Linked DNA regions of Homo sapiens: regions 1, 2, 3, 4, 5 and 7 are each linked to region 6. Evidence: promoter capture Hi-C in human tissues and cell types (Jung and others, 2019). All regions are on one chromosome and are shown on one strand. Each heading gives the region's core, a stretch centred on a gene start or on the middle of the fragment in contact. The rest is flanking DNA. Distances are from core to core; before and after follow the strand shown.

Region 1 (3,599 bases), core at 960-3,459, 520 kb before region 6:
CCTGTCAACTTTGTACTACATTCTAATACGCAATTTAAACAAATCCTTTAAGGTTTTCTAGGGTAATTTTTTTTTTTTTTTTGAGATGCAGTCTCCCTCTGTCACACAGGCTGGTGTGCAGTGGTGCCATCTCTGCTCACTACAGCCTCTGCCTCCAGGGTTCAAGTGATTCTTCTCTCTCAGCCTCCTGAGTAGCTGGAACTACAGGTGCATGCCACCACGCCCAGCTAATTTTTGTATTATTAGTAGAGACAGCATTTCACCATATTAGCCAGGCTGGTCCCAAACTCCTGACCTTGTGATCCACCTGCCTCGGCCCCACAAAGTGCTGGGATTACAGGCATGAGCAACCATGCCCAGCTTTTCTAGGGTAATTTTATTAGAAAATAAATATGTACATGTAGCAAGGTAAAAGAAATAGAAATTATATGGCCAGGAGTGGTGGCTGATGCCCATAATCCCAGCACTTTGGGAGGATGATGTGGGTGGATCACGACCTCAGGATTTCGAGACCAGCTTGACCAGATGGTGAAACCCCATCTCTACTAAATATACAAAGATTAAAAAAAAGATATATATAAATTAGCTGGGCATGGTGGCTGGCACCTGTAATCCCAGCTACTCAGGAGCCTGAAGCAGGAGAATCGCTTGAACCAGGGCAGCAGAGGGCAGCAGTGAGCCAAGATCACACAACTGCACTCCAGCCTGGGTGACAGAGACTCCGTCTCAAAAAAAAAAAAGAACCTATAATAACAATTCTTCTGTTCATAAATATGCCTTCAGATGTAGACATCAGAAGTCTCAAAAATATAAAGAAAGTGGCCTAAATAAAGCCCAAGGTGTTGGACACATCTATGTATTGCACCAACCATATGATGCACAATTCAATTATTTATCCAGTTGCTAGTCTAGACTAAAAGCTTCTGGATTGTAGGAAAAAAGACTGCTGCATAGTTTTTTTTTAATGGCCATATAAAATGGAAGCAACTAGTTTATCCATTTGGGTCTCCAGATCTTTTCCTTCTTTACCATCCAAGTACTAGGAAACTGGAGAAACTCTCATCTGGGTACCAACCAAAGACACCTCTTGTATGAGGGGATGAAAAAACACAGGATGACTCATTTCCCTTACACTGAGACAGAAGCAGAATTAACCACTCTTATCAGCCTAACACAATTCTGCTCTGAACATCCTCAAATGCCTCAAAGACACCCAGGTGATTGTGAGGGAATTTCCAGTGACCCTGGGCTGATGGCCCAATGATAAGCCAGGCTAGAGAGACTCAGGCTGAAGACCAATGCAACAGAATAGAGAGCCCAGAAATAATGCCACCCTCCTATAACCATCAGATTTTTGACAAAGCTGACAAGGGAAATGTGGGAAGAATTCTCTCTTTAATAAATGGTGCTGGAATAACTACCTAGCACTATGTAGAAGACTGAAACTAGCTCACTTCATTACAGCATATACAAAAATCAACTGAAGATAAACACTTAAATGTAAGCTTAAAATTATAAGAAACACTGCATGAAAACCTAGGAAATACCATTCTAGACACAGAAACTGGCAAAGAATTCATGAGGAAGCTACCAAAAGCAACTGCAACAGAAGCAAAAATTGACAAATGGGACCTATTTAAACTAAAGCGCTTCTTCACAGCAAAGGAAACTATCAACAGAGGAAAAAGACAACCTACAGAATAAAAGAAAATTTTTGCAAACTTTGCCTCTGACAAAGGTCTAATATCCAGAATTTATTAGAAACTTAAACAAGTTTAAAAGACAAAACCAAACGACCTCATTAAAAAGTAGGCAAAAAAGATGAACACTGCTTTTCAAAAGAAAATATACATGTGGCTAAGTACCTGAAAAAAATGCTCATCGCTAATCACGGGAGAAATTAAAAGAAAAACCACATGTGGCTAAGAAGTACTTGAAAAAAATGCTCATCACTAATCACTAGAGAAATTAAAAGAAAAACAACAACGAGATATCACTTCACACCAGTCAGAATGGCTATTTTCAAAAAGTCAAAAAATAATAGATGCTGGCAAGGTTGCAGAGAAAACGGAATGCTTATACTCTGCTGGTGGGAGTGTAAATAGTTTAACAACTGTAAAAAGCAGTGTGGCGGTTCCTCACAGAACTAACAACAGAATTATCATTTGACCCAGGGATCTCATAATTGGGTATATACCCAAAGAAACATAAATTATTATATTATAAAGACACATCCACATGCATGTTCACTGCAGCACTATTCACAATAGCAAAGATAAGGACAGGCCCTAAATACCTATCAGTGGTAGACTGGGTAAAGAAAATATGGTATGGTCAGATGCAGTGGTTCACGCCTGTAATCCCAGCACTTTGGGAGGCCGAGGCGGGTGGATCATGAGGTCAGGAGATCGAGACCATCCTGGCTAACAAGGTGAAACCCCGTCTCTACTAAAAATACAAAAAATTAGCCGGGCGCGGTGGCGGGCGCCTGTAGTCCCAGCTACTCGGGAGGCTGAGGCAGGAGAATGGCGTGAACCCGGGAAGCGGAGCTTGCAGTGAGCCGAGATTGCGCCACTGCAGTCCGCAGTCCGGCCTGGGCGACAGAGCGAGACTCCGTCTCAAAAAAAAAAAAAAAAAAAAAAAAATTGGCCAGGTGTGGTAATGCCCGCGTGTAGTCCAAGCTACTTGGGAACATGAGGTAGGAGAAAATTGCTTGAGCCAGGGAGGTTGAGGCTAAAGTAAACCAATATCATGCCATGGCACTCTAGCCTGGGCAATAAGGGAGACTCTGTCTCCAAAAATAAAATGAAATAAAAGATTTAGTCAAAATAAAATATGGTATATAAACCTCATGGAATACTCTGTGGCCATTAAAAAAAAAAATCATGTCCTTTGCAATAACGTCAATGAAGCTGGAGACCATCATTCTTAGAAAACAAATGCAGAGGCCTGGCGCAGTGGCTCATGCCTGTAATCCCACCACTTTGGGAGGCCAATGTAGGTTGATCACTTGAGGTCAGGAGTTCGAGACCAGCCTGCCCAACATGGAGAAAAGCCATCTCTACTAAAAATACAGAATTAGCTGGGTGTGGTGCCATGTGCCTGTAATCCCAGCTACTCAGGAGGCTGAGGCAGGAGAATCACTTGAAACTGGGAGACGGAGGTTGTGGTGAGCCGAGATCACACCATTGCACTCCAGCCTGGGCAACAAAAGTGAAACTCCGTCTCCAAAAAAAAAGAAAGAAAGAAAAAGAAAATACTGTAGAAACAGAAAACCAAATGCATGTTTTTATTTATAAGTAACAGCTAAATAATAAGAACACACAAACACAAAGAGGAGAACAACAGACGCTGCGGCCTAGTTGAGGGTGGAGGGTGGAAGACTAAGAGAATCAGAAAACATACCTGTTTGGTGCTATGCTTAATACCTCAGTGACAAAATAATCTGCACGCAAAACCCCCATGCACCAAAACAAACTCATGTGTACCCCAAAACAAAAATAAAAGCTAAAAGAAAAAATTAAATCCCTGGGTGGGAGAGATTGCAATGTAGGTGAGAGGACTGATTTTTGCTACAGATAGTTGTCCTGGTGCAGCTG
Region 2 (3,814 bases), core at 519-3,018, 650 kb after region 6:
TAATGTCTTTTTCATAGCAAAGTTTATAAATAATGCTCACCTAATAAAAAAGAATCTCTCATATCTGATGCAGCAACAATTGATCACATGCTTTCACATGTAAATAGGAGTGAAGAAAAGGCAGGAAATAATTTAAGAGTTGAATTACATTATTACTCACTTTTCAAAAAATCTAATTTTTTCAAAAAGTTAAGCATACTTTGAATGCAATAACTGCAAAAAATTTCTACTTTTAAAGTTATATACAAATATTTTACCAATTTTAGTTTTAGATTATTTTCTATACTCAGCACTCTGATTTAGTAAAATACCTGAAGCATCAGTGCCTTACATATTTCTACTGTAAATTCTCTGATATTTACAGACTTAATGATTAAAATTTTTAAAAAATTTTTCCTGTATCTGCAAAAATATGTTTTAGTATGAACTCTCTGGTGTTTTCTAAGCTGTAGTTTTTGAAAAAGTATTTTTCCAACTTTATTACATTCGCACAGTTTTTTTCAATATAAATTCCCTGATATTGAACAAAGTTTGAGCAACTGCTTCAGAGGTTTCCTCTAATACAAAACGTGTACAGTAAGATCTGTGATACAAGTAAACATATTACAATTCTACTACAATGTTCTTCTTCAAAATACTCTTCACTTTAAAAGCTTATATTTTCTTAAAGATATTTTGACAGTAGTTGCACTTATGTTTTTATTGAGTATGAACTCTCTGATGTTGAGTAAGATGTGAGCATGTATTAATGGCTTTTTCACAGTCTTTATATTTGTACAATATTTCTCAAGTATAAATGCTTTCCTGTGAAGGTGTGAGCATTAGTTAAAAGTTTTGTCACACTGTTCACACATGTAGAAGTTTTCTCCAGTATAACTTACCTTACCTACAATCAAGTGTGACAACCATTTAAAACTTTATCACATTCTTCACATTTCTAGGATTTCTCAACACTATGATTTATGTTTTGAAAAGTTTGAGGTGTTTTCAAAGCACTGTCACATCTTTCTGGTTTGTAGAATTTCTCTCTAGTATGAATTATCTTATGTCTGTTAGGAATTGAGAATTTATTAAAGGCTTTGCCATATTCTTCACAGTCACAGGAGTTCCCTCCAGTATGAATTTTTTTATGTTTAGTAAGAGTTGAGGACTGGTAAAAGGCTTTGCCACATTTTTCACATTTGTAGGGTTTCTCTCCAGTATGAGTTATTTTGTTTAATAAGGCTTAGGGACTGGTTAAAGTCTTTACCACATTCTTCCCATTTGTAAGATTTCTCTCCAGTATGAGTTATCTTATGTTTAGTAAGGGTTGAGGATCGGTTAAAAGCTTTGCCACATTCCTCACATTTGTAGGGTTTCTCTCCAGTATGAATCATCTTATGTGCAGTTAGTTGTGAGGACCGGTTAAAGGCTTTGCCACATTCGTCACATTTGTAGGGTTTCTCTCCAGTATGAATCATCTTATGGGTAGTAAGGTTTGAGGACTCATTAAAAGCTTTGCCACATTCTTCACATTTGTAGGGTTTCTCTCCAGTATGAATTCTCTTATGTTTAGTGAGGGCTGAGGACCAGTTAAAGCCTTTGCCGCATTCTTCACATTTGTAGAATTTCTCTCCAGTATGACTTGTCTTATGTTTAGTAAGGTATGAGAATCGGTAAAAAGCTTTGCCACATTCTTCACATTTGTAAGGTTTCTCTCCAGCATGAGTTATCTTATGTGTAGTAAGGGTTGAGGACTGGTTAAAGGCTTTGCCACATTCTTCACATTTGTAGGGTTTCTCTCCAGTATGAATTATCCTGTGTGTAGTAAGGTGTGAGGACCGGTTAAAAGCTTTGCCACATTCTGTACATTTGTAGGGTTTCACTCCAGTATGAATTCTTTTATGTGTAGTAAGGTGTGAAGACCGGTTAAAAGCTTTCCCACATTCTTCACATCTGTATGGTTTCTCTCCAGTATGAATTATCTTATGTGTAGTAAGGTGTGAGGACCGGTTAAATGCTTTCCCACATTCTTCACATTTGTAGGGTTTCTCTCCAGTATGAATTCTCCTGTGTGTAGTAAGGGTTGAGAACCAGTTGAAGGCTTTGCCACAATCTTTACATTGGTAGGAATTCTCTGTAATATGAAATCTTTTATGTTGAGTTAGGTGTAAAAGCATGCAAAATGATTTTTCACATTTTTTACATTTGAAAGGTTTCTTTCTAGTATGTCTTATCTTATGTCTGTTTGAATTTGAAAATGTATGAAAGACTTTTGCAGATGGATCACATTGAAATATGTTGCTCTGGGTAGTTATCAAACACTGGTTTAATTTGTTATCATGTTCTTTGTGCACTTTACACTCATCCACACTTTTACAGCCTTTTTGTAACTGTAAATTGTCATGTCCATATTTTCCATATTTTTTCAGAATCGCTTCTTGAAAAGAATCTTTAATGTCCTGCTCTGCCCAAAGGTCTTGGGGAAAATGAGAACATATAACTGAAAGAAATAAAAATAACAAATTACTTTACTTACTAGACACAGATAGTTTACAAATCTAACCTCTAATATACAAACTACATAAATAAGATGGCATAGGAAAATACCAAAGGCCCTCATTCCTTTATAGACATATAAATGTAAAAAAAAAAAAACCAACCAAATTACATCTGAAAAAAATTATAAATGAGTTAAGTGTGTGAAGTGCCCCTGGTGAGAACAATGCAAAGAGCCACTTAGAAGTAAAAGTCTGTACATTTACCCAACAGAGCTCTTTCTGCTCCCCAATATAACATACTGTCTTTAGAAGTAAATTGCCAACTTGTTTTTAATGACAAGTAAAATACTGGCACATTTATCTTTATTACTTGCTTCTAGGAGCCTTTCCAGACACTGGTTTGTGTCTCTCTTGAAATATAATGCTGAAAGAAACGGTGGTATACTTTGGAGTGACAGTCTTAACTTTGCTGAGACCAAAGGTAAATGTTTCAGCAACAGAGAGACTGCTGTACCACAGACAGAAAACAGGTGTAGCACGTGATTATTATTAAGAAGAAACATGAATAAACTCCTTTAACTAAAAGAGAAAGACAAAATCTCAGACAAGACACATTCTAAGAACATGTTTGAGAGACTCCCAGAATCTCTAACCAAGACGATTGTTCAGACTATGCCAGGACAAAGCTACATTATAAAGATTGTGACAGGTAGCCTTTTTTAATGTCCAAATTTCAATCAAGGATTACAATGTATACAAAATAAGGCAATATGGTTCCATAAAAATATAAAATTTTAAAAAAGAAACTATAAAAAAGATGTATACACACCGATTTTAAAAATTGAAAATAAATTGAATAATACTCAGTGAGTGAAACAGGAAGACAGAGAACTATAGAAAATCAGAAAAATGAAGATAAGAACATAAATATTTAGAATATCAAAAAAACAAATTGTGGAGGTAATAAATATAAAAAAGAATAGCTGAAAAATATTGAAAGAAACGATGTAAAGATGAAGAAGCTCAACAAACAAACTAGGAAACACACAAAGATATTTATAACAAACACATATATAAGCACAATTTCAAAAGTCACAGACAAGAGAACCTTGGGAGCTGCAAGATAAAAGTGATGCGTCATTTGCCAGCATAGTCTTATGAGACAGCCAGTGAATTGTCAATAAAAATTTTGCAGGCCAGAAGGGAAGTGTGTAATAAAGTCAAACTCCTGTAAAATACAGCAATCAAGTAAGCATAATACTATCAGCAAATCTGTCCTGCCAAATAAAAAGAAAATAACTTTCAAAAGTAACAAAATTCTGAAAAGTATATTG
Region 3 (3,731 bases), core at 472-2,971, 620 kb after region 6:
AAGCACCTGTAATCCCAGCTACTCAGGAGGCTGAGGCAAGAGAATAGCTTGAACTCAGGAGACAGAGATTGCAGTGAACTGAGATTGAAGCACCGCATTCTAGCCTGAGTTACAGAGTGAGATTCTGCCTCAAAAAAAAAAAAAAAAAAAAAGTATTTAACCTTTCACTTGAAAAATGTGATAAAATTAAGTTTTTGGTAAGCTTTGTGTAGCTTAACATCAGCATAGAGTAGAAAAAAAATCTTTAAAAATGCAAACAAAAAGCTACACCAAAAAAACTAACATCTACCAGTGCATACATATTGATCTTTGTTTTGGGAGAGTCTAAAGCAAAACATTTGGTGAACTTGATACAGTTATTTTGATCACATTGGCATACTGATAAAATCATTTTATTTAATTTCACTGAAACATGTTCACATCTTAAAAATACTGTTTTGTAACATGAATGATAAATGTAAAGTCTTTATCCTCAAGAGGATCCTGATTCTCAAGATATATGGCAACCCGTGTCTCTGGTTTCTCCAAACTGAAGTTTCATGAAGGCTCAAACATGAAGTGAGAGGGAGTCAACAACAGAGCATGAGAAGCAAGAAGGATGAGGTAGGATGGTCAGCTCTAAGGCTCAGAGGTTCCTGGGGGACCCCAATATAATGATGTCAACTATGAAGCTCACTAGTAAACATAAACATAAAAAGCTGAGGCTGGGCATGGTGGCTCATGCCTGTAATCCCAGCACTTTGGGAGGCCTAGGCAAGCGGATCACAAGGTCAAGAGATCAAGACCATCCTGGCCAACGTGGTGAAACCCCGTCTCTACTAAAAATACAAAAATTAGCTGGGCATGGTGGCGCACACCTCTAATCCCAGCTACTCAGGAGGCTGAGGCACGAGAATGGCTTGAACCCGGGAGGTGAAGGTTGCAGTGAGCCGAGATCACACCACTGCATTCCAGCCTGGTGACAGAGTGAGACTCCATCTCAAAAAAAAAAAAAAAAAAAAAAGTTGAAAACTCCATGGCTTCTCTTTGGTGAGAAAAAGTCTCTGGAATTACAAACAGTCCTGCCAAAAGGATTGAGCCAGAATGACATGTATCTAAGGATTATTAAGGAGGAATGTTCATAAGCACATAAGTATTTGTTCCAAAACTTATTACAGTAGCAATATCCTTTTCTGTAATTTTAGCTTCCCCAAGGTAGGGTTGCTGTAGACAAACTAAGACAAGGCACTAATATGTTGAAGGCAATTAGTTTCTAAATTTAAAAAACTTGCAATTTTTTTTTTTGAGATAGAGTCTCGCTCTGTCACCCAGGCTGGAGTGTGGTGGCACAATCTCGGCTCACTGCAACCTCTGTATCCCAGGTTCAAGCAAGTCTCCTGCCTCAGCCCTCCAAATACCTGGGATTACAGGTGCCTGCCACCATGCCCAGCTATTTTTTGCATTTTTAGTAGCGACAGAGTTTCACCACGTTGGCCAGGCCGGTCTCGAACTCCTGACCTCAGGTGATCCACCCACCTCGGGCTCCCAAAGGGCTGGGATTACCGGGGTGAGCCACCACACCTGGCCCAAAAACTTGCAATAATTTTATAAATTTTATTGAACTCTGTTTCATGTATAAATCTCACAAAAAGACACTATCCAGTAGCTATTTCCCTGAGACTTTTCTGGGAATTTCTGTTGCTTGATTTCAAATCAACCTTATTAGAATCCTAGTCATTTTTGAAGCCCTAGATGTAATAAAAGAAAGAGGGCAGGAATGAAACCAAGTTTCCCCAAACAGTCAATGTCTAATATATTTTGTTCCCCAAAATGACCCCAAAAACCACACAAGCTAAAAAACAGTGGGTTTGAAATTTAACCTACATTCAACAGTAGCAGAAAACCATATGTAAAAATCAGCAAAGTCATAACTTAGAAACATTCTGTTATTCCAGAAAAAATAATAAAATTCTTATTTTGGCATTTTTAAAAAAGAAAAAATACACTAAATATGACAAAATATACCAACTCACTTATATCTTTGAAATATGATTTTCTTTCTCCTAAGTATTTAATATAATATTTAGACAAGACTTTCATGTATTATAGCTACCATGCATGAACTAAAATAGCCTTGGGGGAAATAATTTTTATTAATAATGAATATTGAGGCTCCAGAAATGTAAAATGATTTATCTTGGATACACAGCTAGTGACCCAAATGAAGCTCAAATATGTTTGATTTAAAAATTTTAATTTTGCCACTGTTGACAATGTTGACATAACAGCTAAATCTGAGCCTTAGAGTTGATAGTTGGGGAATAAATCAAGTACTATTGAGGCGGGCTAGGTAATCAAGAAAGTGGCTATGTCCTGGGGATGCGGCAACCATGGTGATTGCATGACAACTGCAGACTGCCAACACAATAAGCACCAACATTTACATTGGATTTCAGCTCATTCAAGAAAAGCTCTCTCCAGCAGGGAAATTCCCCTGTAGAGAGCACAGTTTGATTTTACCTGTCCTCTAACTGACCTTTTACTCATTGTAATAGTAAAAAACACTCACGTGTGTGGAGATTTAAGATGCTAATGAGATATGTGACATATAAAGAAACATGTACAGGTACTGAGTGTGTGTACGAAGAGAACCACCCAGAACATGGTTACTAGTAACATCTCTTTCCACCTCCTTATAAATAATTATGTAAGACTCTCATAAATGGAATCTCCTTAGTTCCAGCCTTTGCTGTATCATTCTTTTTTTTTTTTTTTTTTTAATTTGAGATGGAGTTTCGATCTTGTTGCCCAGGCTGGAGTGCAATGGTGCAATCTTGGCTCACCACAACCTCCGCCACCTGGATTCAAGCGATTCTCCTGCCTCAGCCTCCCGAGTAGCTGGGATTACAGGTGCCTGCCACAACACCAGCTAATTTTTTGTATTTTTAGTAGAGACAGTGTTTTACTACGTTGGCCAGGCTGGTCTCAAACTCCTGACCTCAGGTGATCTTCCCACCTCAGCCTCCCAAAGTGCTGGGATTACAGGCGTGAGCCACTGTGCCCAGCCTGAAGTATTTTAAAATGGAGGTTGAGAGCCTTGAGATTAAAGGTCAGATTTGATGGTCACTCCATACTCACCACTCCGATGATTCTGTATTTTGTTCTGATCCTGGACAAGCTCCCAGATGAAATGGCTGCACTGTCTGGGGTAAATACCTGGGGTCCATTGTCTAATGCCAGGAAAATGTATGACATAAACACACAGGAGGAGTGGGTTTAGGAGCAGAAAGTTTAATAGACAAAAAAGAAGAGAGAAAGCTTCCTCATGCTGAGAAAGCAGGTCACCCAGAAGAGTTTCTGGGTTTGGGGTAGAACACGATTGATTTTGTAGAGAGGCTTGTGGAGGCAGTGATTGATTTACATAGGGCCCAGGGGTTTGGTTGACCAGGAGTGCCATTTACATAGCCAGTGAAAACACTGGCTCCCCACCCTAGCCTTTTATTATGCAAATGCAGCTTCTACCTGGCTGTGACCATGACACCTACACACAGGGTGAAAAGGAAAAGAGGGGGAAGTTTCCATGTTGAAATATAACTGGCTTTTGGTACAGCTGCCTCTATTTACATATGCAACCCTCTAGCTTGCTTATAAGCTTGCAGTTTGACTTTTTAGGCTACTTTCTGTTAGGAATAAAATGGTTTGGGGGCTGCTTTTTATTAAAGGAAAATTCCAGTGAGAACTCTTTTACCCAC
Region 4 (3,601 bases), core at 559-3,058, 640 kb before region 6:
AATCCTGGAGCCAATATATGGATACAGGGTTCAACAGATCCTGCCCCTAAGGCTGGTGACCTTGTAGCTATGAAAGCAGAAAATGAAGGCATAGTACAATTTCCTAAAGATGAAAAACAATATGTTCCCCTCTGTTTTTGTTATTACAAGGAATAACCTATCTACTAATGGTCAGCACCTGTGTCTTTGTGTCTAAAGCCAAGAATAAATTCATTTACTAGGTAGCCACTGCTGCAACAAAAGCCAATCACAGAGAATGTTGGCTGTACATCGAGTTGCCAGAGGCTGCCAGGAATGGGCTACCTTGAAGAATCGTCCCTGACAATATTTCTGAATGGCTATGTCGTTATCAATGGGGCCACAACAACAACACTTGTAATCCAACCTGGACTTCCTTTCACCACACTAAGCAATCTGTCTTTGCCCAGGTCAGACAAAAGGTGAACTCCACCCTCACCTTCCATCAAAAGCCTTGGTATTTTGCCCAATATTCCTGGAACGGTATATATTGGAAACCTGCTGTGCTGGTGGCTGGATTCCACACAGCCCCTGCTTCATCTGGAGGCCTTAAATGGCTCCTCTAATGTTACTCTGGGGTTTCTCCAGACAATTGTCAACACATACTCCAAATCAACAACATTGCCCCCAATGAACCACAATCTCTTTCCTATTTTAATAACACATTAGTACAGTATGTTTACAGTAGGTCCATGGCTGTCCCCTGGGGGGCCCTCTGGGTATGCAGATCCTGTGGGTGTTGGTACCTGCCCCCACACTGGGCAGGGAGATCACTTGTGGGTGGCCATTAATTCCATTCACCATCCGGGATAATATCCCCCTCCCAAGTAATCTGGATGCTTACAAACACCACTGGTTATGAATGTGCCGGCCTCCTTGGTGGCGATACCTTATCACAGTATTCTCCCCTGCCGCTAGAACAATCCTGCTTCACCAACAAATTAAAATATTAAGCTTATATGTAGAAAAAGCTCTTAATGATAGTAGCACTGGACTTATGCTGTTATCAGATGAATTTGCTCAGCTGCGTACTGTTGTGTTGCAAAATCAAATGGCATTAGATATGCTTACCGCAGCCCAAGGAGGGGTTTGCGCCTTACTGCATACTGGATGTTGTGTGTATATCCCTGGCAATTCTCACAATATTAGTCTCCTTGCAAAGCCATGAGTATGTTTTTTTTTTTAAATTGTGCTTTTAATTCTCCTATGCTTACCCTGTATCCATAATCTATGTCAACTATGAGTTCCCCATGTATCTATAACGGTATTTTAATACAATTGAGTACCGAATTGAGGCCGAATGTTGACGAAAAGTTAAGTATTAAATTTGAACTCAATTGAACGTGGACACAAATAAAGGTCACCAAGTCTTGGCACAGGTTGTGTGAGCCCCTTTGAGGCGTTCATTCAGCACTGTTTCAGAGAAGTCTCTATTTCAATCTATTCCTATATGTTAGTTATTGTAAAACAATAGCCAATCACAATAACAAGTTGACCTTTTTGTGTTTCTTGAGCCCAGTCACAAAGGGCCCTCGTGACTGGGCTTCATGCCAAACAACTTGTTACAAGAAGAGCTAGGGTCCCAGACCACACTAAAGCTTCAAGAAACCTCTCCTAGTCTGTGCAAGGACTGTTGGCTGACTCTGGAGCCCAGACTGTTGCTTCCTGGTCTGGTGATAAATCCTCCATAGTCTGGTGAGTGTAAATATATATATATATACACACATATATATATATATTCCCTTCTCCCCTTCCCATTGCAATTTTCTTATTATATAAATTTACTTACTATATCTGCATTGCCATTTACGTGGGATAAATCTTGTTTATCTTTAAAGGTATTTTGTGTGTATGTCTTTTCTTCTCCACTCACTCATTTCCTGCAAAGAACACCATATTTCTCAGAGCCTTTGTTGGTTCCTTTTTATTATTTTTTCTTTAATCGTGTCTGCATGCCTTATTTTAGCAAAGTGGTCTTCAAACTCTGATATCCTTCTTCTGCTTGGTCAGTTTGGCTATTGATACTTTTGTATGCTTCATGAAGTTCTCGTGCTGTGTTTTTCAGCTCCATCAGGTCATTTATATTCCTCTCCAAACTGGTTATTTTAGTTAGCAGTTCCTCTAACCTTTTATCAAGGTTCTTAGCTTCATTGAATTGGGTTAGAACATGTTTCTTTAGCTCAGCAGAGTTTGTTGTTAACCGTCATCTGAAACCTACTTCTGTCAATTCATGCATCTCATTCTCTGTTCAGTTCTGTACCCTTGCTCAAGAGACATTTTGATCATTTGGAAAAGAGGCACTCTGGCCTTTCAGCCATTTTTTGTTGATTCTTTCTCATCTTGAGTTTGTCTAGTTTCAATCATTTGAGGGTGCTGACCCTTGGATGGTTTTTTTTTTTTTTTGGACACAGTCTCTGTCACCCATGCTGGACTGCAGTGGCACCATATCAGTTCACTGCAAATTCTGCCTCCAAGGTTCAAGTGATTCTCATGTCTCAGACTACTGAGTAGCTGGGAATACAGGCATGCACAAGGATGCCTGGCTAATTTTTGTATTTTTTAGTAGAGAGGAGGTTTTACCATGTTGGCCAAAGTATTGGGATTACAGGTGTAAGCCACTATGTGCAGCCTTGGATGAGGTTTTTGTGGGTACTTTTTTTTCTTGTTGATGCTGTTGTTGTTGCTTTCTGTTTGTTTTTCTTTCAATGGTCAGGTCCATCTTCTGTAGGGTTGCTGCAGTTTGCTAGGGTTCACTTCAAGCCCTATCCATCTGGTTCACTCCCGTGCCTAGAGATGTTACTCAAGGAGGTTGGAGAACAGCAAAGAAGAATGTCTGTTCCTTCCTCTGTCATCTCTGACCTCAAGAGACACAAATCTGATACCAGTAGAATTGCTCCTGTATAGGGTGTCTGACAATTCCTATTGAAGGTGGAATGGGGAGCAGATGGGGAGCAGAACCCATTTAATGAAGCACTTTGACTGTCCTTTGGTGGAGGGAGGTGTTTTGCTGTGGGAAAATCCACTCATCTGGGCTGCTTAAATCCCTCAAAACTAGCAGGAGGAAAGGCTAAGTCTGCTGGTCCACAGAGACTGCAGCCACCCCTCCTGCTAGGGTTCTGCTCTGATCCTTGTTATTTCTTTTTTTCTGCTGGGTTTGGGTTTGGCTTGTTCTTGTTGCTCTAGTTCTTTGAGGTGTTATCTTAGATTGTCTACTTATGCTCTTTCAGACTTTTTAGTAGGCACTTGATGCTATGAACTTCCCTTTTAACACCACTATTGCTGTATCCCAGATGTTTTGTTAGATTGTGTCATTATTATTGTTCAGCTCAAAGATTTTTAAAATTTCCATCTTGATTTCATACAACAATCATTCAAAAACAGGTTGATTGTAAATTTTATGTTTTATTTAATTTCCATGTATTTATTTAATTTCCATGTATTTGCATGGTTTGAGGGTTCATTTGGAGTTGATTTTCACTTTTATCCCACTGTAGTCTGAGAGAGTAGTTGATATAATTTTGATTGTTTTAAATTTATTGAGACTTGTTTTGTGGCCCATCATATGTCTGTCTTAGAGAATGTT
Region 5 (4,064 bases), core at 831-3,330, 660 kb after region 6:
ACGCCGTCTCAAAAAACAAAAAACAAAAAACAAAAAACAAAAGTTGAAGAGGTATTTCCTCCATCAAATTCACAGACACCAATGCAAAACTATATTGTGCCCATTGTCAATGCTTCTATTTTAACGTAGGACTGGAAGTAAGTGGCAGAATGATGAGTCAAAAACATTTTTAAAAAGCCACTGAAATTGAAGAAAAATAAGTTACTTTTTGTGGATCATATGATCTTATATATAAAAAAACCATAAACACTACATTGAAATTTGTCTAAAGTAATAAATACACTCAGTAAATTAGCAAAATATAAAATTAACATACAAGTATAAACTACTGTTCCATACATTTTAACCATCTGATACAATAAAGAAAACAATCTTATTTACAATAGCATTAAAATAATAAATTTCTGAGAGGAAATTTAACCAAGAAGGTAAAAAAAATCTTTACAATAAAAGATATAAGATAGACCAGGCACAGTGGCTCACGACTGTAATCCCAACACTTTGGGAGGCCGGGGCAGGCAGATCAAGAGGTCAACAGATCACGATCATCTGGCCAACATGGTGAAACCCCATCTCTACTAAAAATTAAAAAAATTAGCTTGGCGTGGTGGCATGTGCCTGTAGTCGCAGCTACTCAGGAGGCTGAGGCAGGAAGATTGCTTGAACCCAGGAGGTGGAGGTTGCAGTGAACCAAGATCGCGCCACTGCACTCCAACTTGATGACAGAGCGAGACTCCGTCTCAAAAAACAAAACAAAACAAAAAAGATATATCAATGAAATAAATTATTGAAGACACAAATTTTAAAATATTTCATGTCCATGGATTGAAAGAATAAATATTGTTAAAGTGTCATATTATCTAAAGTAATCTATAGCTCCAATAAACTTCCTATTAAAATTCCAGTGGCATTTTTTTCCACAGTAATAAAAAATACAATTCTAAAATTTATAAGAAACTGCAATAAACTTCAAATAGCCAAAGCAATCTTGAGGCAAAAGAACAAAGCAGAGGGGTATTATACTTTATAAGTTCTAACTATATTTCAAGAATATAGTAATAAAAACAGGATGGAATGTGCAAAAAGATTAACAAACAAAACAACGGAACAGAAAACACTACTTTCACACATTTCAGACATGATGAAAAAAGAGAACTAAAAAATAGTTTAACATAGAGTTTCCCAAAATTATGCAGATATCTGTGTGTCCCCCCAAATAATGGAAAAGTAGGGAGATTGTGCAGTCTTTTATATGCCTTGAAAAGGACTCTGGCTCTCACTGTAAACCTGAAGGAAGATCACCAAAAGGAAAGTAGAATCTTTAAAGAATTTAAAAGCATAAGACAGAAGATGCCCCTACGTGACAGCCAAAAAAAAAAAAAAAAAAAAAGCCCAAAAAACAAAAACACTCAGGCATCCCAGAAACTATTTCCTTTGGAACATAGCTTCCCAAACCACATTTTAATGACCAGCTTTCTTTTTGACCTTTGGACCTCACATCTGTGTCATCTGTTGTGTTCACTCTCACCTACCTGGGGGTTTGGCTACCATCTCATGTCTCTTTATATTCCAGGGCTCTTTTCCTTGCTCCAGACAGGTGATCAGGTCTGGCTTAGTGAGAGCAATACCTGCTTTATTAGAAATAAATAACATGAATCTTTCTCATATTCTCCAATTACCAACCTAGTACTATGCTTAGTAAAGAGGAGGTGATAGAATATTCTAGAAAATTAATCCTAACGTACTAATTAATGAGAGAAATTTCTAAATATTTAGAAAATATTTTAAATTTGTAGGTTCTTAATTTCACTACCCGGTACTCATGAATCAAAAAATTGGTGGTGATGAATGGATTTTAAAATATGGGCAAATATATATGTACATATATATACATTTATTTATTTTTGAGACGGAGTCTCGCTCTATTGTCCAGGCTGGAGTGAAGTGGCATGATCTCGGCTCACTACAACCTCCACCTCCTGGGTTCAAGCAATTCTCCTGCCTCAGCCTCCTGAGTAGCTGGGACTACAGGCGCCTGCCACCATGCCCGGCTATTTCTGTATTTTTAGTAGAAATGGGGTTTCACTTTGTTGGCAAGGCTGGTCTCAAACTCCTGACCTCGTGACCCGCCTGCCTCAGCCTCCCAAAGTGCTGGTATTACAGGAGTGAGCCACCATGCCCGGCCTAAAAACATGGGCAACAATATTTTATGACACTAAATTTCTGGAATTACCACTAATCTAGAGTGAAGGATACAGATCAGCTCAGGAATATGGAAAGTTCAGGTCAAGATGAAACATCTTGAATACATTCTTTTCCACACACAGCCTCAAGATTTTCTTGAAAAAACGGATCAGAAACTCATTTATGCAAAGCATGAATTACCAAAAATCATTCCACAAAAAAAGAGAAACCTTTACGGTATATTAGAAATTGTGTATTAAAGTTATTCTCACCCAAGAAGACCAGGTTTCTGTAGTTCTCTAACATCACTTTCCTATACAAACCCTGCTGAGCACTGTCCAGGCATTGCCACTCCTCCAGAGAGAATTCTATGGCCACATCCCTAAACGTCAATGGCCCCTGAAAAGCACAAGCACAGAGACACACATATATTTACCAAGTGGCCATGGGCAGAATTTATTATTTGAATTAAAATGAAATGACAGAGCAAAGAGAATTGGTTCTGATTAATAGAAATGACAAATTTTCCAATAATTTTTAACACAGAAATATTCTCTAAAATATTCTCTAATTCTGAGAGAAGAGAATGGCATAAGATCCACAACACCAGTGTATATATGACACTTTTCTAGATAAAGTATAAAATTAAGAGCATAAACACAAACATATACATTTTTGAGTGTTATTATTTATATCATAAAGAATGAGTTGTGTATATTTTTCAGACAAAAAAGAGATGTTGAGTTAGAAGGCACCTCCTGAATTTTAATGTTTACAATAAACTGGAAATCTTGTGCAGATTTTTTTTCAGAAGATCTGGAATGAAGTCTGAGTTTCTGAATTTCTTTCTTTTTTTTTTTTTTCTGAGACGGAGTCTCGCTCTGTCGCCCAGGCCGGACTGCGGACTGCAGTGGCGCAATCTCGGCTCACTGCAAGCTCCGCTTCCTGGGTTCACGCCATTCTCCTGCCTCAGCCTCCCGAGTAGCTGGGACTACAGGCGCCCGCCACCGCGCCCGGCTAATTTTTTGTATTTTTAGTAGAGACGGGGTTTCACCTTGTTAGCCAGGATGGTCTCGATCTCCTGACCTCATGATCCACCCGCCTCGGCCTCCCAAAGTGCTGGGATTACAGGCGTGAGCCACCACGCCCGGCCGAGTTTCTGAATTTCTAACGAGCTCACTAGTAATGCCAAAGTTTTTGGCCCCAAAAGAAAATTCTGTGAAACATCCAGTAAGTGGAAGAGCCTGTGTTTTACCAGATTTTTCTGGCCTGTAAAACAAAGAGCCTTCATTTTCCAAAGACAGCTACATGCAAAGAAAACATAAGAAAAAAGGGCAGCTGCCAGATTAAATGTGATGGCTTATGCACATTAACTGCATAAAGATGCCTAATAATGACAAGAAAAATAGTTAACTCTGTAGTGAAAGAAATATCAGAGAGCTTTTTAACCAAGTAAATTATTAATATCAACCATAGTAGGACGAATTTTTATGTTGTGCTTATGCACATAGAAGAACATAGCATCATTGCCTAGATATTGCCCCTCCAAAAGTAAATTATATTCTGAATTCAATCATACAGAAACATCAGTTTTATGCAAAGTTCAAGATACAGGTATCTCCAATGTTCTGTAATTTTCAATAATGATTTTAAGTAGTCTTTCTTCAGCACCCTATATAGCAGGTATCTCTCAATCTTTTTTCAGAACTTTCTGGGTAATAAATGCCATCCTATTTAAGTAAGTATTTTCTTAATCCTGTTCTGCATAGAGCTAATGGAGAACACAGATGGAACCTCAACATTACATATTCTCCACGTAAACCCCAGCTTTCCCCAATAGGAATCTTGAGTATCCACATCCTTCCATGTTCAACAGCCAC
Region 6 (3,745 bases), core at 707-3,206:
CGTACACACCACTACAGTGGCTAATTAATTTTTTTTTTTTTTTTTTTTTTTTGTAGAGATGGGGTCTTATTATGTTGCCCAGGCAGCTCTTTTTTTTTTTTTTTTTTTTTTTGAGACAGAGTCTCCCTCTGTCGCCAGGCTGGAGTGCAGTGGCGCGATCTCGGCTCACTGTAACCTCCGCCTCCCGGGTTCAAACGATTCTCCTGCCTCGGCCCCCCGAGTAGCTGGGAATACAGGCGTGCGGCATCACACCCAGGTAAGTTTTTGTATTTTTGGTAGAGACAGGGTTTCACCTTGTTAGCCAGGATGGTCTCGGACTCCTGACCTCTTGATCCACCCACCTCGGACTCCCAAAGTGCTGGGATTGCAGGCGTGAGCCACCGTGCCTGGGCGATTCTATTTTATTCGTTGATCTTTTGTGGTGCTTTTACAATTTTACATCTACATATTATAAATCCAGTAACAAAGAGTCATAATTGTTGCTTTTAATAGTGATAGGTTGCTTTAAAACTGAAGGGTACAATTTAGTCAGATACTTTGGTGCTATGCAAATACAATGCTTATTTTTTAAGTGTTATTTACAATTTTTACACTCCTCAGTTAACCTTGGATACAATAATAACTGGTGGTTTTGTGATGGTTTCTTTAGCATTTTATCTATGTTGATTAGTATTTGGAATTCTGTAAAAAAAAATTTCCCTATCCTTTTTTCTTTTTTATTTATTTAAAGTTTTTTGTGTATCAGTGTAAATGCATGGGTATTTATTTATTTGACTTGATTTATTTTATAGGTCAGTGCTCTAATTATTCATTTGGATGCTAACATTGTTCCAGGATGGACCATTGGGAGTTCTTTCAGGCTGGCTCCCTTTGACATGTTCCCATCATTTTTTAAAATTAAAAAAAAAGAAAGAAAAAACATTTTGAGGCTGGGTGCGGTGGCTCACGCCTGTAATCCCAACACTTTGGGAGGCCAAAGCGGGCAGATCACCTGAGGTCAGGAGTTCAGGACCAGCCTGGCCAACATGGTGAAACCCCGTGTCTACTAAAAATACAAAAAATTAGCCGAGCATGGTGGCGCGCGCCTGTGATCTCATCCAGCAGTGCTTTACTTGTAATTATTTTATTCCTGCTGCCGTCTCCTCTTTCTTTGGCCACTATCTGTTCCACCCCCGGAACGGAAGAGAGATGTTGGTAGGGAGAGGCTCTTCCTTCACCTCTGGCAGAAAAGGTTTGCTTGGGCCCTTCACACCGCTGACATCAGAGCTGCACTTCAATGTGGCAGTTATTGGCCATGTGTGGCGCCTGGTCTGAAGTGCGATGCTAGAAAGGTAAAATACAGAGTTAGTTTCAAAGATTTAGTTCCAAATATTTATATACTTTATTAATAATTACATATTTCTCACACATTAAAATGAAAATTTTTTTGATATATTGGGTTAATTAAATTGTTACAATCAATTCAACCTGTTCTTGTTTCTTTTTCAAGTTTGGCTACTAGAAAACTTAAAATTCACATATGGCTCACATTTTATTTCAGAGGATTACCTCCTTTCTAAAATCTCAGCCTGCCTGCTCAAAGACCAGAAAGAAGCCAGGAAGGTCATAAAATCTGAAATTTTAAAATAATTGTTATTATAAAATTATATTTTTTCCTTTGTGAAGAGCCATATATTATTTATAAATGCATATGACTTTACACACAAGTTTAAAGGCAAATTCCCTCTGGGGTGGGCCTGGCTCAGCTCTGGGAGGAAGCCCTGCCTGAGAAGGCTGCAGCCTAGGCTGTCACCCTTTCTTCACTCAGCCCAGCAACTGATCACATCTTCTGTCACTCAGGGCACGAGAAGGTGGGGTTTTAAAAGTTATCCAATCAGCGACGCTGGGTTGGGAACCGTCCAATCAGGCCTGCAGCTGGAGCGGACAGGACGGCTTCGGGGATGTGGCGGGGCCTTTGTCTCTCGCTGCAGCTGGAGCTGCAGGTCTCGCCTTCACTGCCCTGTGTCCTCTGCTCGCAGAGGCCCAGCCTCTGTGGCCCTGTGACCTGCAGGTATTGAGAGATCCACAGCTAAGACGCCAGGTACCCCGGAAGCCTAGAAATGGTGAGAGTGCCGGGTCCGACATCCCGAGAGAGGGGAAGGGGCGGGTTGTAAGCGGTGGGAAGTGGCTGTGGTGGGACTTAGGCCTCCCCGCAGTCAACTCTACAATCTGCGCCCGGAGTTCTCCTTGCTCAGCTCGGCCTCAGTCCCCTTCAGCCATAAGATGGCGGCTGCGCTGACTGCGGGATCCCGGGCGTCCTGTCTTTTCCCTGCGCAGTGACTGGGCCCTGACCTGGAGTCCTCTCAGGGCAGCTCTGGACCCTCAGCGGCGCGTCTCTCCCGGATTGTGCAGGGACCACTGGAGGGTCCCAGGGGTAGAATCCTGACTCGGGGTGCGGGTTTATGAATGGGTCCGTGGGGTTCCAGTTCCTCTTCTGTTGAAAATGTATGGGAGTCACCGTTAAAACACTAAAGCATTTAATCAAAGCGTGATTCAAAAATTGTGGAGCACCCAGCTGTGGTTTGTAATTTATGGTTTATGGGCGGGGCTTGAAGTAAAGACTTTTATAAACAGCATGATGAAGAAAACCAAATTCAGTAATTGGTTAGGTTCAGATACATAGTTTCTTAATTTGTAAAATAAAGGTGAAAATTTCCTGGTTATGTAATTAGATGTTAATTGGCAGTTTATAGTTGGTTAAGGATGAATTTTGTTTCTCTCAATGTAGTAATTTACTAAAAATGCACCTCAGTTAGATTTTTTTTTTTTAAGATGGAGTTTCGCTCTTGTTGCCCAGGCTGGAGTGCAATGGGGCGATCTTGTCTCACCGTAACCTCTGCCTCCCGGGTTCAAGCGATCCAATGCTTCAGCCTCCCAGGTAGCTGGGATTACAGGCATGCGCCACCACGCCCGTCTAATTTTGTGGTTTTAGTAGAGACGGGTTTCTGCATGTTGGTCAGGCTGGTCTCGAACTCCCGACCTCAGGTGATCTGCCCTCCACGGCCTCCCCAAAGTGCTGGGATTACAGGCGTGAGCCACCGCGCCCAGCCAGATTTTTTTAAAAGTAGGAATCCAGGGACTAGAGACACCTCAGTCTAATTTCCCGCCGCTTAATTATTTTCACACTCCATGGGGAACTGATTTTCTGGTGCATTTTTCAACTGTGTCCCAAGCACTGTCTTAAATCTAACCTCCCGTCCCCCATATCTCCAGCCTCACTCTGGCTTGCAGTAAGATATTAAATTTCCAGTTCCTCCTGGCATTCCCTAATGCCAGCTTTTCCTCCCTAATTCACGTTATCACCTGTTTGTCTTTTAGTGTACTTTTGTATACCATATTTTAATTAATTATTTTTTGACAAAGCTTTAAATGACGCTTTTTAAAAGGTTTGTTACCTGTTTGTAACTTTCCCATGAGAAGAAAGCAAAGAATAATCCCCTGACACTGTATTGTAAAATTTCTCTGTGCCTCTTCTCCTTGTATCTTCTCTAGGTACAAAGATCTTGTCAGAATGTTTTTGGGTCAAGGTATTCCTTTGAAACCTTTATGAGGTGATGTGTCCTCAGCCACCCTTTAGTTTTTTTCTGGTCGTGGGTTTCAGTACTGTCTGGGGATCAACCAAGATATCCACCATGGTTATGTCAGCTAAAGTGCCTAGTGAATATCAGCTTCTGGTTTATTTTCTTCCATAGGGCGACCTGAGGTC
Region 7 (3,513 bases), core at 339-2,838, 670 kb before region 6:
AAAGGGTCCATAAATGGGTGTTTTAAACAAGTCCCCTGTCAATGCTGATGTTGCTTCTCCTTGGCTCATTATTAGCATTAGAGAAAGCAGGAATAGCAGAGGGTCCCTTACACTTAGAACTCTTGTCACAACCAAATACTTCTGGTACAAATAAGGACAACACATCTATGCTAAAGTTTTATATTCTTTGCTGGGTCTTTAAAGTTTACAGAGGAAACAGAAGGCAGCAATGTCTGGATAAGTCTGCATTTAAAAAACATGTACACATGTACAAATGCAATGTTTATTAAGCAGGTACTTTGTGCTCAAGAGTATGATACAGAGCACTATGCTGGGCATAACATATTATGTGATTTAATTCTTGTAACATTCTTGGAGCTAGTACTCAGGGTTTAATAATTTCCAGGATTTAGATAAAGGGCAGAGAATTTTTACTGCCTCTTCTGTTTCTCTGTTACCAAATTTTTTTAAACATTGTAAAGAATAAAAGCTAAATATATACAGATGAAAGAGATATAGAAGAGTTTATTGTAGTTTAGAGAAAATTTTATTCTGTTTATGTTTACTTTTCTGTGACTTGTGGAGCAACTACTGGATCTGCAGGAATAGAAAACAAGTTGCTAAATAGAATGTCTCTGCCAACACTGGTTTTAACAGAAAATTTAAAAACTAAGACTCTACAATACATACTTTATTTTTCCCATTTATCTGCTTTTGGGTTTCAGGAAATTGGATTCACCAGCCAAAACTCTGATATCTTCTAATCAGTTCTGTGAGGCAAGACTCCAGAGTAGGGTCAGACCTAAATAAGGCCTCCAAAAAGGGTGAATCTGAACATGTCTGGGACAAGGTGAGGATCCTATAGAATTCTGTTCTCTATGCCACTGTGGTACTAACAGTTTTCTTTTTTTCTAATCTTACCTAAAAGAAAAACCCCAGAGTTTCTGTAATTTTAATATTTTCTAGCACTGCTCTGTCAACTTTATACTGTATACTAATATGCAATTTAAACAATTCTCTTAAGGTTTTCTAGGGTAATTTTATAAGAAAATCAGTGTGTACACTTACGAAGGTAAAAGAACAGAAATTATACGGCTGGGCACAGTGGCTTACACCTATAATACCAACACTTTGGGAGGCTGAGGTAGATGGATCATGAAGTCAGGAGTTCATGACCAGCCTGACTAAGATGGTGAAACCTCTTCTCTACTAAAAATACAAAAATTAGTTGGCTGTGGTGGGAGGCACTGTAATCATAGCTATTTGAGAGGCTGAGGCAGGAGAATCGCTTAGACCCAGGTGACAGAGGTTGCAGTGAGCCAAGATCATGACACAGCATTCCAGGCTGGGTGACAGACTAAGACTCCATCTCAAAAAAAGAAAAATTAATTATAACAATTCTACTGTTCATTAATATCCCTTCAGGTGGTAGGTACCATGACTGCTTCATGTATTTTTTTTTAATGACCATAAGAAATGGAAGCAACTAGTTTATCTACTTGGGTCTCCAGATCTCCTTGTTTATCATCCAAGTACCAGGAAACTGGAGAAACTCTCATCCCTGTACAAACCAAAGACAACTCTTGTATGATGGGTTGAACAAACACAGAATGACTCATTTTTCTTTACACTGAGACAGAAGCAGAATTAACCACTCTTGTCAGCCTGACACAATTCTACTCTGGACATCCTCAAATGCCTCAAAGAAACCTAGGTGATTGTGAGGGAATTCCCAGTGACCCAGGGCTGATGGCCCAATGATAAGCCAGGCTGGAGCGACTCAGGCTGATTCTAAATAGAAAATAAAACTGCGTTGGTGGAGCCCCAGAACCTGGGTCACCTGTCCTGATATGCTAGCACTTGGGTAAAAGACAGAACAAAAATACTCTACTCCAGTATCCCATTTTACAGGTAAACATAGTTGTGGTCATGGCTCTGGATACTTTGTGGCCTGATCTCTCACTCCTAAGATGATTATTTACACTTACAGATTCTGCCATCAGATTCTATTTCCTCCTGGAGCCTCTCACATCACTGTAGCAGGTCAATGAAAAAGATGTAAAAAAACTCAAAATGCCACACTCTGAAATGGGGGCTGTAAGATGTCTATCTTGACAACTTACAATGCAGAAAATAACTTTTGTTAATTTTCTGTACATTCCATATCCAAAGTCTGGCACTTTTTAAATCCCAGGCAGAGGCCGGACCTAATCTGTAGATTCTAGATAGGATCAACCTGGCTCTGCATCCTTTGGTGTTACAGCAAATGGAGTACAATCAAAGGAGAGTACCCTCATAGAGGCTGCTCTAGAACATTCTAAGTGATAAGTCTAAATAAAAAAAGCTGACATATCAAGAATATAAGTAGACAGTTTATTTGGTTTAAGCTTAAGGATTATAACCAGGGAGCAAAGATTCAAGTTGCCTGAAATCTACACTTTGATTAGCAGCAGTTACAAGATTTGTAAAGACAAGAGAGGGACATAGAGTGGTCTGATACAAAGTTGTTTGTCAGAAGTTTTTATTTATTTAGATAAATAATATTGATTATTGATTAGATATATATCATTATTGTTTAGGGTATAGAATATAGTATCCAATGTGGCATTGTTAATTTACTTTATAGCTACTTGTGGCAATAGTGAACAGTTTCAAGGGATGAATACATAGTTCAAAGGGGAGAGAAAGATGTTAACTGCTCTTTCATTTTAACATCTCTCTGAGTTTGATAACCAAAAGTGCTTGCACTTTTTAGATAAAAGTTTTTTATTTCCCAAATCTCAAGATCTGGATTCAAAATATGGAGCTACAGATTTAGGTCCTGAATGGCAGGAGTAGCAGCAGGTGTTACTTGCACATTAGTGAGCATTTCAGCAAGAGTAGAAAGGGGATAGTGGAGACTTTCTTGTCTACATGTCTACTCAATTCACATGTTACTCCAGTTCAGTTTGTTGGCCCCACGGTCTCTGAATCTGTTTAAGGTCTGAAAATACAAGAGTCATTGAAAGAGAAAAAATTATTGATTGCTTCCCTGTGAAATTTGTAGAAATCTGATCTAGTCTCTCTAGCAGTGACTGTAAAGGACTCTAGATACCAAATAGGCAGGGACACAATTCTGCCTTCATATTTAGGGGACAGCATGCACTTTGCTGCACAAGTGTGAGTTGACTGGAAGCCTGAGAGGAATAGTCCCCTCTAGAGTAAGTTCCGGTTGGCACCTTATTTGTGTTTATATCATGTCTGGTAATTCTAGACAGTGTTTGGAAACAATAATTAAAAGACAGATTTTATCCAGCTCCAGAGAAACTCCACAATAATAGAACAGAAAGAAAATGGTTTTATTACACAATTGAACTTGAATGTGACATGCATCATGGTCAGTCTGCTTAAGAGACTGCAAAGATAGAAAGATGGTCACCAATATTAGTCCCCAAGCAGAAGAATTTCCAGCACCATGTCATACATAGTTCATCCTAAATTCACCTGGAGATTGAAGAGGCCATCTGTGTATAC

What was found. Contacts are between HindIII fragments. The study calls those that stand out against the background at their distance.
Region 1: a fragment that was not itself captured here is called in contact with the fragment with the promoter of ZNF714 in region 6 in 6 of the 25 tissues and cell types used here (H1 embryonic stem cells, adrenal gland, hippocampus and 3 more).
Region 2: a fragment that was not itself captured here is called in contact with the fragment with the promoter of ZNF714 in region 6 in 1 of the 25 tissues and cell types used here (heart left ventricle).
Region 3: a fragment that was not itself captured here is called in contact with the fragment with the promoter of ZNF714 in region 6 in 1 of the 25 tissues and cell types used here (aorta).
Region 4: a fragment that was not itself captured here is called in contact with the fragment with the promoter of ZNF714 in region 6 in 1 of the 25 tissues and cell types used here (stomach).
Region 5: a fragment that was not itself captured here is called in contact with the fragment with the promoter of ZNF714 in region 6 in 1 of the 25 tissues and cell types used here (dorsolateral prefrontal cortex).
Region 7: a fragment that was not itself captured here is called in contact with the fragment with the promoter of ZNF714 in region 6 in 1 of the 25 tissues and cell types used here (hippocampus).

Annotation. Positions count from the first base shown.
Region 1 is chr19:20,557,553-20,561,151 of GRCh38, forward strand. The region is part of intron 1 of ZNF737 (zinc finger protein 737); the gene reads right to left. The region is part of intron 2 of LOC105372316 (a long non-coding RNA gene); the gene reads left to right. Among named protein-coding and RNA genes, the nearest start is that of ZNF737, 6.4 kb to the right of the region's middle. The HindIII fragment of the contact is 6,645 bases long and covers 1-3,599 here.
Region 2 is chr19:21,725,508-21,729,321 of GRCh38, forward strand. It overlaps ZNF100 (zinc finger protein 100), which reads right to left. Exons shown (of 5, transcript NM_173531.4): 5 at 1-2,482. The coding sequence ends at 1,176. Among named protein-coding and RNA genes, the nearest start is that of ZNF100, 40 kb to the right of the region's middle. The HindIII fragment of the contact is 4,592 bases long and covers 1-3,814 here.
Region 3 is chr19:21,702,114-21,705,844 of GRCh38, forward strand. No RefSeq gene overlaps it. Among named protein-coding and RNA genes, the nearest start is that of ZNF100, 64 kb to the right of the region's middle. The HindIII fragment of the contact is 3,485 bases long and covers 1-3,464 here.
Region 4 is chr19:20,435,898-20,439,498 of GRCh38, forward strand. All of the region lies in intron 1 of LOC105372317 (a long non-coding RNA gene), which reads left to right. Among named protein-coding and RNA genes, the nearest start is that of MIR1270, 38 kb to the left of the region's middle. The HindIII fragment of the contact is 4,344 bases long and covers 1-3,601 here.
Region 5 is chr19:21,742,485-21,746,548 of GRCh38, forward strand. ZNF100 (zinc finger protein 100) reads right to left here. Exons shown (of 5, transcript NM_173531.4): 3 at 2,457-2,583; 4 at 1,533-1,631. Among named protein-coding and RNA genes, the nearest start is that of ZNF100, 23 kb to the right of the region's middle. The HindIII fragment of the contact is 6,742 bases long and covers 1-4,064 here.
Region 6 is chr19:21,080,247-21,083,991 of GRCh38, forward strand. ZNF714 (zinc finger protein 714) reads left to right here and starts at 1,957. Exons shown (of 5, transcript NM_182515.4): 1 at 1,957-2,102; 2 at 3,732-3,745. RefSeq lists an enhancer at 2,296-2,445. The HindIII fragment of the contact is 9,806 bases long and covers 1-3,599 here.
Region 7 is chr19:20,412,669-20,416,181 of GRCh38, forward strand. LOC124904663 (a long non-coding RNA gene) reads right to left here. Exons shown (of 2, transcript XR_007067167.1): 2 at 2,353-2,983. It also overlaps the pseudogene ZNF826P. Among named protein-coding and RNA genes, the nearest start is that of MIR1270, 15 kb to the left of the region's middle. The HindIII fragment of the contact is 3,294 bases long and covers 1-3,235 here.